Linked DNA regions of Homo sapiens: region 1 is linked to region 2. Evidence: promoter capture Hi-C in human tissues and cell types (Jung and others, 2019). All regions are on one chromosome and are shown on one strand. Each heading gives the region's core, a stretch centred on a gene start or on the middle of the fragment in contact. The rest is flanking DNA. Distances are from core to core; before and after follow the strand shown.

Region 1 (3,699 bases), core at 937-3,436, 960 kb after region 2:
GTACTATGCTTATTGTCTGTGTAACAAAATAATAGGTATACCAAACCCTTGTGACATGCAACTTCCCTACACAACAAACCTGCTCATGTACCCATGAACCTAAAATAATAGTTAACAAACCAACCAACCAACCCCTTGAGAATATACAACAGCAAATTGAACATTAAAAAAGATAATTTGTAAAATAACAGATCAGAAGAGACTGTGTGACTGCAGCACAATGAAAAAAGATGAAAAATAAAGAGGGTGAGAGACAAATAAATGCAATATAACAGTTTAAAATACCTTTGATCAGAATCTTAGGAGGACAGGAGACAGTGAATCATGCAAAGGCAATATTTATTTTGGTTTTAAAATCAACCTCATTGGGATATAATTGTGGGAAATAAGGTGCAGCCATTTTGAGTGTAGAGTTTGGTGAGCTCTGACAAAAGCATACACTCATGTAACCACCGCTGCAATTAAGATACAGAATAAGCCACATGCGGTGGCTCATGTCTGTAATCCCAGCACTTTGGGAGGCCGAGGCAGGTGGATCACTTGAGGTCAGGAGTTTGAGACCAGCCTCGCCAATATGGTGAAACCCCGTCTCTACTAAAAATACAAGATTTAGCTGGGCGTGGTGGCACATGCCTGTATCCCAGCTACTTGGGAGGCTGTGGCAGAAGAATCGCTTGAACCCATGAGGCAGAGGTTGCAGTGAACCAAGATCGTGCCACTGCACTCCAGCCTGGGTGACAGAGTGAGACTCCATCTCAAAAAAAAAAAAAAAAAAAAAGATACAGAATAGGTCCATTGCCCTAAAAAGTTCCCTCTTCCCTTTTGTAGTCACTGCCCCACCCCTCAAATCCCAGTCCTAGGCATCCAAACTGTTTTATCATTATAAATTAGAATTGCCTTCTCTAGAATTTCACACATATGGGATCATACAGTATATAGTCTTCTATATCTGTTTTTTTTTCAATCTCCTTTTTGAGATTCATCCATGTTGTTGAGTGTATCAGTGGTTTGTTCCTTTTTATTTCTGAGTGTTTATCCATGCACCTGGTGATGTACATTTGGGTTCTCATTTTCAGCCATTATAAATATCTACAAACATTTGTGTACAGGTTTTTTGTGTCGATATATTTTGGTTTTATTTTTGGAAAGAGTCTTGGTCTGTTGCCCAGGCTGGAGTGCAGTGGCATGATCAGGGTTCACAGCTGCAAACTCCCAGGCTCAGGTGATCCTCCTACCTCAGCTTCCCAAGTATCTGGGACTTTAGGCATGCACTGCCATGCCTGGTTAATTTTATTATTTTTTATTTTGTAGAGACGAGGTCTCACTCTGTTGCCCAGGTTGGTCTATGTGTGGATGTGTTTTCATTTCTCTTGGGTAACATCTGTGAGTAAAACTGCATGTCTGCATGATGAGTATACATTTAACTTTGCAGTAAAATTGTCTATTATTACTGAGTTGTAAGATTAAAAAAAAATCAAGTACTTTGTCAGATATACTAATTGCAATTTTTTTCTCACAGTCTTTTTTCATTTTCTTAATGGTGGCTTTTGAAAAGCAGACATTTTAAAAATTTTATTTATTTTTATTTTTTATTATTTATTTATATTTGAGACAGAGTCTTGCTCTGTGGCACAGGCTGGAGTGCAGTAGCACAATCTTGGCTCACCACCTCCCAGGCTCAAGCAATTCTCGCTCTTCAGCTTCCTGAGTAGCTGGGATTACAAGTGTGGGCCACTATACCTGGCTAATTTTTTGTATTTTTAGTAGAGACGGGGGTTTCATCTTGTTAGCCAGAGTGGTTTTGAACTCCTAGCCTCAAGCTGATCTGCCCACCTTGACCTCTAAAAGTGTTGGGATTACAGGCATGAGCCACTGCCCCTGGCCAGAAGTTTTTAATTTAATATAGTCCACTTTATCAAATTTTTTGTACTTTATTATTGTGTCTTGGAAGAAATTTTTGCTTATCATAAGATTTTCTTTTAGATATTTTATTGTTTTCCTTTTTTATGCTTAGGTCTATGATTCATTTCAGGTTATTTTTGTGTATGGTGTGATGTAATGGCGTGGCACGTAAGCTCTGAAACGAACCTCAATGATCCCTACCTTATGAGGTCCTTATGAAGTCTCACCTATGTGGGCTCTACCCAGGGACTCACTTTTAATTGATAGAATATGGTTAACGTGATATGATGTCACTTTCAAGATTAGCTTAAACAAAGATCTTGACTTTTGTTTTACTTTCTCTCTTTCAACTTCCTTCCCTTTCTCCCTCACTCCTCTCTCCTCACTCTGAGGGAAGCAAGCTACCACATTTTAGACCCATAAAGAGACCAACAAGGCAAGGAACTGATGTCTCCTGCCAATGCCAGTTAAGACCCGAGGCCTGCCAACACCTACAGAGTGAGCTTGGGAGCAGATCCTTTCCTGGTCAAGCTCTGAGATAATGCAGCTTTAGTCAATGCGTTGATTGCAACTTTATGAGAAACCCTGAGTCAGAGGCATTCTGATTCAGACATGTCTAGATTCCTAATCCTCAAAAACTGTGAGAAAATAAATGTTCGCTGTTTTAAGTCACTAAATTTTGGAGCAATTTGTTATGCAGTAGTAGATAACTACACAAAGCGTTTTCATCAAGTTTGGAAAAAATTTGGCCGTTAGTTCTTTTTTTTTTTGGAGCTGGAGTCTCACTCTGTCATCCAGGCTGGAGTGCAGCGGCATGATCTTGGCTCACTGCAACCTCTGCCTCCTGCCTCAGCCTCCCAAGTAGCTGAGATTACAGGCATGTGCCACCACTCCTGGCTAATTTTTGTATTTTTAGCAGAGATGGGGTTTCACCATGTTGGCCAGGCTGGTCTCGAACTCCTGACCTCAAGTGATCCACTTGCCTTGGCCTCCCAAAGTGCTAGGATTACAGGCGTCAGCCACGGTGTCTGGCCCATTATTTCTTAAAACACTCCCACACTCCCATCCCTGCCCTCCTGGGACTACAGTTGTATGTATTTTATACTGCTTGATATTGTCCCTAAAGTCTCTGAGGCTCTCTGTGCATAATTTTTCTTTGGTCTTTTTTTCTCACTATGTTTCATTTTTGGATGGTTTCTTTCGCTCTCTTCAAGTTCTCTGATCTTTTCTTGTGCAGTGTATGATCTGCTGTTAATCCCATTTTGTGAGTTTTAAAATTCTCTAATATTTTTCATCCACAGGTTTCCATTGGTTCCTTTTTTGCATCTTCCACTTCTCTCCTTATCATCTTCATGTGTTCCTTTAAATCACTAAGAATATTTACAATGGCTGGTTTAAAGTTCTCATGTTTTAATAATTTTAATTAATTAATAAAAATTAAAAAAATAATAATTTTATCCCCTCTCATTTCTGGGTGTGTTTTGATGCACTAGTTTTTGTTTTTCTTTTTTTCTGGTTATGGGTACCATTTTCCTGCTTTTGTTTATCTATTTTGTTGGATTTGTTCTGGCAGGTAATTAAGTTACTTGAGGACCAGCTTGTTCATTTTGAAGCTTGTTTTTAGCTTTTTCAAGACAGATTTTCAATTCTTTTTACTCTAGGCTAGTTTAGTTTTAACAATAGGATAAAGTGATCCTGAAATCTTTATTGTATACTCTGGGTGTTCAACAAGGATGTTCCACTCTGGCCGACTGGAACTCTCATGTCTCTTATTACTGCATAAACTCTTGATGTTTT
Region 2 (3,448 bases), core at 452-2,951:
ACGTCTGGAGTTTGTTCCTTCTGATGCTCAGATGTGTTCAGAGTTTCTTCCTTCTGGTGGGTTCGTGGTCTCGCTGGCTCAAGAGCGAAGCTGCAGACCTTCGTGGTGAGTGTTACAACTCTTAAGGCGGCGCGTCTGGAGTTGTTCGTTCCTCCCCGTGGTCTCGCTGGCTTCAGGAGTGAAACTGCAGACCTTCGCGGTGAGTGTTACGGCTCATAAAAGCCGTATGGTCCCAAAGAGTGAGCAGTAGCAAGATTTATCGCAAAGAGCGAAAAAACAAAGCTTCCACACTGTGGAAAGGGACCTCAGCGGGTTGCCACTACTGGTGGGCAGCCTGCTTTTATTCTCTTATCTGGCCCCACCCACATCCTGCTGATTGGTAGAGCCGAGTAGTCTGTTTTGACAGGGCGCTGATTGGTGCGTTTACAATCCCTGAGCTAGACACAAAGGTTCTCCACGTCCCCACTAGATTAACTAGATACAGAGTGTTGACAGAAAGGTTCTCCAAGGCCCCACCAGAGTAGCTAGATACAGAGTGTCGACTGGTGCATTCACAAACCCTGAGCTAGACACAGGGTGCTGATTGGTGTGTTTACAAACCTTGAGCTAGATACAGAGTGCCGATTGGTGTAGTTACAATCCCTGAGCTAGACATAAACGTTCTCCACGTCTCCACCAGACTCAGGAGCCCAGCTGGCTTCGCCCAGTGGATCCCGCACCGGGGCTGCAGGTGGAGCTGCCTGCCAGTCCCGCGCCGTGCACCCGCACTCCTCAGCCCTTGGGTGGTCGATGGGACTAGGCACCGTGGAGTAGGGAGCGGCGCTCATCGGGGAGGCTCGGGCCGCACAGGAGCCCACGGAGTGGGTGGGAGGCTCAGGCATGGCGGGCTGCAGGTCCCGAGCCCTGCCCCGCGGGAAGGCAGCTAAGGCCCGGCGAGAAATCGAGCGCAGCGCCAGTGGGCTGGCACTGCTGGGGGACCCAGCACACCCTCCGCAGCCGCTGGCCCGGGTGCTAAGCCCCTCATTGCCCGGGGCCGGCAGGGCCGGCCTGCTGCTCCCAGTGCGGGGCCCGCCAAGCCCACGCCCACTCGGAACTCCAGCTGGCCCGCAAGCGCGGCGCGCAGCCCCGGTTCCCGCTCACGCCTCTCCCACCACACCTCCCTGCAAGCTGAGGGAGCCGGCTCCCACCTTGGCCAGCCCAGAAAGGGGCTCCCACAGTGCAGCGGTGGGCTGAAGGGCTCCTCAAGTGCCGCCAAAGTGGGAGCCCAGGCAGAGGAGGCCTGGAGAGCGAGCAAGGGCTGTGAGGACTGCCAGCACGCTGTCACCTCTCAGCTTGGGTGCTGCAACAGGCAAAGCAGCAGCCTGGGTTTCTCCAGCCCCGTCACTCGAACCCACGGGCTCATCACCGCACGGTGCGGCCAGACGCCCTTTCTCCTACGTTGGGAGCGAATCTCCTCGGCTCACACAACCCAGCCACCGGCTCCCACCGCGCTGGAACCCCTCTGGCAGCGAGGGTTTGTCCCAGTGCGGGTGACGCCCGGAAAGGAACCAGTCCCAACAGCGCAGGAGACTGAGGGGTCCCTCCACCAGGATCCGCTCACCTGCTTCCAGGTGTGTCGCCTAAGAGCGGCTCCTGTTCACTTTCGTTCCGCAGGCCGGCCATAGTTACACTCCCTACAAGGCGTCTTGCGCCCAACTCTCGCGACACCTGCTTTCTCCCATCCCGGGTGGCGTGAAGCTGGCAAAACAAGCCTGTAAGTGCGCGTGCGCACCTGACGGTCAGACGTAGGCGGAACGCCCCGAGGTCATAGGCGGGGTCACGCGGAAGGCCGGGCAGCGCAGGGCGAAAGGAGGCTGTGTCCTCAGCCTCCTCCCTCGGCACGCGCCTCCCATCCTGACGGGGACTGAGAGCCCAGGAGAGCTCGGGGCGTGTCCAAACTGCCGCGCCGCCCTGCTCCGGGTTTGTCTTCCTCCCTCCGTTTCTCCTTCCGCTGTATCTAGCATTTCGGTTCCTGGAAAGGTTACCGGAGCTGCGATTGGGGCTGGGACCAAAGTTGAGTCCTGGAAAGGGAGCCTGGAGAGCGGCGGTGCTGGGAGGCCCGGCCAGCTCGATCGCAGGCTTCCACCTGGCGGCCAGTAAGTAGCCGGTCCGGTTAAGTAGTAGGTGCGCTAAGAGCTCCCCGCGCCTCTTAGCGCGCCGTGTACGCGCCTGGAGGCAGGGACCGGGGACGCGGAGCTGGGCGGGAGACTCGCGGGTCAGGGACGCGGGGTGAGGCTGGGGGTGAGAGACAAGGCTGGAGTCCGTGGCGCGCTTCGGAGGGCTGAGATAATGGGGGCGAGCGCGCGGGCAGTCCCTTCCCCCCGTGAAAGGTAGAGGTGGCTTCCAGCTCTCTTCTCTAGCTCGGCTAAATGCAAAGGCGCCTTACCTGGAGGGCTTGTCAGAGCCAGGACTGAAGGTGGGATCTGCTGCTTGTAACCTGCAGGTCCCCGGATGCGCACCCCAACGGCGCCTGCGCCTACGGGGGCCTCAGCCTTGCAAAATGTCACTCAGCAGAGCCTGCTGCTGAAACGTGGGAGTTGAAAAAGGTACAGCACCTGCCTAGCAATGACCAGCTCCTTTCGTCACAAGGAAGATGACATTTTTAGAAAACATGTCATGGGTTTTCACTAGATCTCCATGTTTATTTCTTGGTGGTTATGTATTAACATCTTATCTCTACTATTAGGCTTGTAGGCTAGCTGGCGTCAGTAGTCATTCTGTGTCTCATAAATTACCGTTTTATTAGCGCCAGATACATTGTCATGTAATTTCATTTGATCACAAGTATCCTATGAGATAGGCGAAGCAGACACATTGCTAGTTTACTGAAAATTAAGATCCAGACAAGTTAACCCAGAGTCACTCTGTGTGGAAGTGGCAAAGTTGGAAACCAAACTTAATTTTTTTAAATTAATATTTATGAGCATTTACCCTATGCTAGGTCCTATACTAGTTACACAGTCATGTATGGTATATGCCATCACTTCTGATCTTTGTGTCATTTGTGACCTTGTGTGTATCAGCCAGGCGCAGTTCACTGGTGAACACCTAAACTTGAAACGTGCGGTCTGGGTGCGATGGTTCATGCCTGTAATCCCAGCACCTTGGGAGGCCAAGGCGGGCGGATCACGAGGTCAGGAGATCGAGACCATCCTGGCTAACACGGTGAAACCCCGTCTCTACTAAAAATACAAAAAAAAAAAAAAAAAAAAAAAAAAAAAAAAAAAAGCCGGGCGTGGTGGCGGGCGCCTATAGTCCCAGCTACTCGGGAGGCTGAGGCAGGAGAATCCCTTGAACCCGGGAGGCGGAGGCTGCAGTGAGCCGAGATCACGCCACTGCACTCCAGCCTGGGCAACAGAGTGAGATTCTGTCTCAAAAAAAAAAAAAAAACCAAAAACCTTGAAACGTG

Evidence for each region. The method cuts DNA at HindIII sites, captures the fragments that hold promoters and counts their contacts. A contact is called where the count stands out against the background at its distance.
Region 1: a fragment that was not itself captured here is called in contact with the fragment with the promoter of MFSD8 in region 2 in 1 of the 25 tissues and cell types used here (dorsolateral prefrontal cortex).

Annotation. Positions count from the first base shown.
Region 1 is chr4:128,922,688-128,926,386 of GRCh38, forward strand. All of the region lies in intron 18 of SCLT1 (sodium channel and clathrin linker 1), which reads right to left. Among named protein-coding and RNA genes, the nearest start is that of JADE1, 110 kb to the left of the region's middle. The HindIII fragment of the contact is 3,334 bases long and covers 520-3,699 here.
Region 2 is chr4:127,963,472-127,966,919 of GRCh38, forward strand. It overlaps MFSD8 (major facilitator superfamily domain containing 8), which reads right to left and starts at 1,702. Exons shown (of 12, transcript NM_001371596.2): 1 at 1,601-1,702. The coding sequence starts at 1,662. ABHD18 (abhydrolase domain containing 18) reads left to right here and starts at 1,935. Exons shown (of 13, transcript NM_001358451.3): 1 at 1,935-2,135. RefSeq lists silencers at 659-768, 879-1,008, 1,019-1,068, 2,189-2,418 and enhancers at 1,509-1,928, 1,519-2,134, 2,813-3,314, 3,315-3,448. The HindIII fragment of the contact is 8,084 bases long and covers 1-3,448 here.